2 separate regions of the Homo sapiens genome follow, and region 1 is linked to region 2. The links are contacts of gene promoters, found by promoter capture Hi-C in blood cells and fetal thymus (Javierre and others, 2016). All regions are on one chromosome and are shown on one strand. Each heading gives the region's core, a stretch centred on a gene start or on the middle of the fragment in contact. The rest is flanking DNA. Distances are from core to core; before and after follow the strand shown.

Region 1 (2,700 bases), core at 106-2,605, 250 kb after region 2:
AGAAAGCTTCTCCTGCTGTCACTCTTATCTAATCTTATAATGAAAAAAAATGGCATGTTTTTGGATAAAAGCTGGCTTTCTGACTGCATTGGATGGTTGGCAGGAACTGGAAATAAAACAAGCTATCCAACAACCACATTACTAAGAAGGCAGGCTCCTTTTACAAGATTTATTCCTAATTCTTTTGGGGTGAGAGAGCAAAATATGATAAGAACGAGGATTGCTTCTGATACTAGTTACACTCTGCTCGCCTCTCTCTTGTGCTCTGTCATTATCTCATTAATTCCCTGGGACCCAGCAAACACATTTATGTGGATGGTTCTGGCCCAGCTCCTGCTCTGCCCTCCAGATCAGCACTTCAGCCTCACACTTGACACATCCACCTGGATGTTCTGCCAACAATGCTGGCTCCAAAGTGTGTGCACCTCTGCCCTCTCCCTGCCTCCCTTTCCCTTGCCTTAATAAATCTCCCTTCTCACTTTTCTATTTCCTGTTGGCCACCATTATCTGTCACCCATCACTGAAGTCATGTATGGGTTCTTCTTTCATTGCCTCCCACCTAGATTCTCTATCAGCCTCCCTTCCAAGTGAAGCTCCTGTTTTACTGTGTACTATTGTCAAAGTCTCCAGGCTGTCCTTGTAGCAATCAGTTCTATGTTCTGTTTTAAGACGTGTCTACCCAGAGCACAGCTGTCACAAGCTACCATTGCCCCACATGGTGCATTTGTACAAATCAGGAAAGGCATCCCATCTTCAAGACACTTGACTTCCGTGTGTCAAGAAACTTCTCATTATATAGTACACTTATAATGACTAAAATACGGTCCTACGAAATATAGGTATCAACAGGGTCACCAGGTGAATGACACTGTCTAAGATTTTGCAGTGCACAATCTGCATACAAGACTCCAGGCAGCCCTGTGATCCTGTCATGCCTCAACTCCATACATTAAATGACCCCTCATCACCTGTGAAAATAAATGCAGACCCGTTAGCCTTGTGAGGAGATGCACCACACCTGGCTTCAGCCTGCATCTCCAGTAGTAGCTCCTATGCCTCACCTCCTCACATACATCTGCTCCACTCTTCCGGCAAACTTTCTCAGGACTCACACTTGCCTGTCATCACAGCTTTAATCATCTATCTGCCTGGTACATCCTTCCTCCATTTTTTCAACCTGTAAATATTTCACCCATTTTTCAAATGTCATTTCTCCTAAGAAGCCTTATCTTTTCTCCACCCCAAATAGGAAGTGAGCAATTTCTCCTTTGAATCCACTGTACTTTGTTTATACCTCAGTTACAATATGCATAATGTATTGCCTTTTATTATAGTTCCTGGCTCATTTGACTGATATGTGCCCGATGGTAAACTCTTTAAGGTAAAGGTTGTGTCTCATTTTATGATTTCTTCAGCACCAAGTTTAGGATTTTATGCAGAATAACTTTTTAATTCACCTAGTTGAACTAAATCAGTAAGTCTTGCTCCCAATAAGTTGATTGATTATAAGCATTCCTATTCCTTGGGAATCTTATCAAAAAGAAATTTTTTATTTTCTATTCAATTGCCAAAAAATGGAATTATAATTATGTTTCTGGTCTTTATATGTGCATTGTATTCCATTTGCTTTACTTCTACAATAACTAGGTAACCTTCCTGGTCTTAGATATATAACCCATAAGATATATGTTCACTATTGTATTTTGCTTAACCAAGCAGGATTGAATATGATTCTTTCTTTTCTTTGTTTTGTAAAGTTAGTCTATCCTTGATTTTATAGGTCTTCATTTCCCAACATCTGTACTGTATGAATAAGACAATTCTTATAAGAGGGTGAAAGTGGTTTCTTATTTTTTAAAAAACTGCTATTTTGAGAGCAGCTCACAAGTAATAATATGACAAGAAGTATTTTTGGTCTTACACCTGCGGAGACTACTATGCCACTGTGGGTTTTAAAGAGATCAAAATCTCAACTGAGTTAAGAGCTTTTAATTCTTTTTATCACTTTGCTGTTAAAACTATACTTAGTGGTAAGAAAAATAATAATTATTTTTATTAGATTTGGATTAATTGATAAATATGTGATAAATGCATGGCTTTTAAAGATTACAAATGTTTTATGGGACCCATAGATTCCTAGATTCCTAGACCTGTGTCAAAAACTAGACCATGGATGGCAATTAAAGATGGTGATGCTCAATGACACAGAGATATAAATGCAAATGAAGTTGGCAATATTTATATTCTAAAACCACCTTAAAGCCCCTGCTATGTCATACTTCCTCTAATGAGGGAGCTTAACAGATAAACACTGACCTTTGTATTCAATTGCCCTCTGAAATGAAAGCAAAGAAAAAGTTTGCTATTCCTCATAAACTAATTTTCTACCTTTTTATCAAATTCAGAATATAGTTTCCCTTTCTGTTTTGGCTTCCAGGGAAATCAGAGTTAACTGAGATTGAGCTCTTATTTTTCAGGCCTGAAAATACATGTAATCCAGATGTTGAGGAACTAACTCACATCGTGGTAATTTTAAACCACAGGGATTTAAAGGTCACTTGGTCTAACATTCCCACTCAAATCTGAAATCCCTCTACAGCTTCTCTGACACGTGGCCATTTTAGCTGCACTTGAATGTTTCTAGTACACACAGCTCATGATTTCATGAAGGAGTTCTTCCCCCAGGGTTAGTTCTAAAAT
Region 2 (2,700 bases), core at 201-2,700:
AATTTTCCAGCTGGGTTCCTGCTTTGCTTAACTAATCCTGTGCACCCCGTTGTGCGGTCCACACCTGAAAGGGGGAGTTTCGATGTTGTGGTTTATTAACCAGGTACTTTCCATTCACTCAGTCAACAGAAAGAAAGAGAGAGACCGCGCCTCCTACTTTTTTTTTTTTTTTTTTTTTAACTACAAATAAGGAGACGGAAACTATTAAATAAGAAGGGGGGAAACTCCCGCATATTTCACCTTGACCTGGCTGGACTGGTCTGCTGCCTCTAAGAGGCGGGTGTTGTATTAAAATGAGAGGTCAAACTCCTCGAATGGGAATCGCTCCTGCCCCTAGAGGGAAAAGAGAACCATCACCGTGTTAAACTGGAAACACTGCCTTGTTTCCAATGCGGGGGACTGAGTTCCCTCCCTCGACTTAGCGTGGTAATGACAGGACCCGAGGAGGCGCGCTGCTTCCGGGCAGTTGCCCAGCATAACACCCGCACCCTACTTGCACCTAAATTTCTGAGCTGCAAGCAGGCAGAAGTGCCTTCCACTTTCTCTCCTTAGCTCCCCTCTCCCCGCTTTGCTGCTGTCTGTAACTTTTTGTTCCGTTTACTGGGAAGGTGACGCTTAAGATCAAAAGACCCACTGTAACTTGCAAAAGCCCAGAGCCACCACCAGACGCTGGGGAAAAACAGGGCTGTCCAGTCCAGGGTTAAGGTTTTGAGCAGAGAAGGAGCAGCGAGAAATCTCGGCCAGTCGCTCCGGGAACAGCCCCTGCAGACTGGTCCAACTCTCCAAAGGCTAGGGACACCGGGGCAGCCTTGTGGTGGGGTAGAGGACGAGCTCCTAACTGCAAGCAAAGTGCTGAGTAGAGGGCGTTGGGGGCAGGGGAGGTCCCTTGACTCCACTTTGTATGCAGCAGCTGCGGGGCAGTGAGTATCTCCGAACAAAGCGGCGAGCAGCGCGGGGGTGAGAGATTGGGGTTTGCTCGCAGCTGCCGCTGGCGCTGAGCGAGTCTCCCACCACCCCCGCGAGCGTTGGGGTGCAAGGATTCGGGGGAGGAGGGAGAAGGGAACGAGGCGTGCCATTCCTGTTGCGCGGCTACGCTTCAGGAGTTCTTGTGAACGATGGGAATGGCAACTATCAGAGCCAAGGGGGAAAAGAAAGAGCTGGAGTGAGCAAAACAAAGAGCGAGTGTGGGCCGCGGTGACTTCATGCCTCACCAATGTCCCGCCCACGCTGCTCCGAGCTGTTACTGCTGCTCCTGCCCGGGCTGCAGCCGCGCCTGCGGGCAGCCGAGGCGAGGCGCTCCGGTAGCGTGGGGAGGTTTCCTAGCAACTCTCTGCCCTGAGTGCACCCGGCTACCCGCAGGTCTGGAGCCCCCCGGGGGGCCAGAGCAGGACCACCCCTCTCCCGCCCATCGCCGGCCTCGCCTCTCTCGCATCCTAGCCGTGTGCACCCCAGAGCGCGCCAGCAACTCGGGCTCTGGACTGCGGGACGCCTGAGCCGCGCACTGAGGCGAAAAGGACAAGGGCACGCAGCCCCCGCCCCGCGAAGCCGGGCTCCGGCACCTCGCGGAACCTCCCCTCCTGCGCTCGCAGCCGCAGGCCCCACTCCCCGCCAGGGAGGGAGCGGCGATGCCTCGCTCTGTGCCTGCGGGTGTCGGCGGGTGCTTCTAGGGCGCTCCCAGAGCCGCCTCCCCCTGTTGCTGGCATCCCGAGCTTCCTCCCTTGCCAGCCAGGACGCTGCCGACTTGTCTTTGCCCGCTGCTCCGCAGACGGGGCTGCAAAGCTGCAACTAATGGTGTTGGCCTCCCTGCCCACCTGTGGAAGCAACTGCGCTGATTGATGCGCCACAGACTTTTTTCCCCTCGACCTCGCCGGCGTCCCCTCCCACAGATCCAGCATCACCCAGTGAATGTACATTAGGGTGGTTTCCCCCCCAGCTTCGGGCTTTGTTTGGGTTTGATTGTGTTTGGCTCTTCGCTAAGCTGATTTATGCAGCAGAAGCCCCACCGGCTGGAGAGAAACAAAAGCTCTTTTCTTTGTCCCGGAGCAGGCTGCGGAGCCCTTGCAGAGCCCTCTCTCCAGTCGCCGCCGGGGCCCTTGGCCGTCGAAGGAGGTGCTTCTCGCGGAGACCGCGGGACCCGCCGTGCCGAGCCGGGAGGGCCGCAGGGGCCCTGAGATGCCGAGCGGTGCCCGGGCCCGCTTACCTGCACCGCTTGCTCCGAGCCGCGGGGTCCGCCTGCTAGGCCTGCGGAAAACGTCCTAGCGACACTCGGCCCGCGGGCCCCGAGGTGCGCCCGGGAGGCGCGAGCCCGCGTCCGGAAGGCAGTCAGGCGGCGGGCGCGGGGCGGGCTGTTTTGCATTATGTGCGGCTCGGCCCTGGCTTTTTTTACCGCTGCATTTGTCTGCCTGCAAAACGACCGGCGAGGTCCCGCCTCGTTCCTCTGGGCAGCCTGGGTGTTTTCACTTGTTCTTGGACTGGGCCAAGGTGGTAAGTTGTTTTGTTTTGTTTTGTTTTCTTCTCTTCCCCAAAGGTCTTGGGCTGGCACGAAGAGCTGCCCGGCCAGAGCATCCCGGCCAGGTAAGTTGCGGTCATCAGAGAACTTCAAGGGGGCGGGTGCGGGGCAGCGTCCTCCAGCACAGATGGCCTAGAGGCCAGGTGTCAAGCATTTCTGCCCTGGAGCGACAGCAAGGACTAATTATCAGA

Evidence for each region. Contacts are between HindIII fragments. The CHiCAGO score rates a contact against its expected background, and 5 or more counts as called.
Region 1: a contact is called between a fragment that was not itself captured here and the fragment with the promoter of ITGB8 in region 2, in 1 of 17 cell types (monocytes). The highest score is 5.7, in monocytes.

The regions. Positions count from the first base shown.
Region 1 is chr7:20,575,300-20,577,999 of GRCh38, forward strand. No RefSeq gene overlaps it. Among named protein-coding and RNA genes, the nearest start is that of ABCB5, 39 kb to the right of the region's middle. The HindIII fragment of the contact is 2,702 bases long and covers 5-2,700 here.
Region 2 is chr7:20,329,450-20,332,149 of GRCh38, forward strand. ITGB8 (integrin subunit beta 8) reads left to right here and starts at 1,451. Exons shown (of 14, transcript NM_002214.3): 1 at 1,451-2,484. The coding sequence starts at 2,358. It overlaps ITGB8-AS1 (ITGB8 antisense RNA 1), which reads right to left and starts at 2,313. Exons shown (of 3, transcript NR_110120.1): 1 at 2,201-2,313; 2 at 1-64. RefSeq lists enhancers at 72-684, 772-841, 942-1,231 and silencers at 1,312-1,701, 2,172-2,411. The HindIII fragment of the contact is 8,395 bases long and covers 1-2,700 here.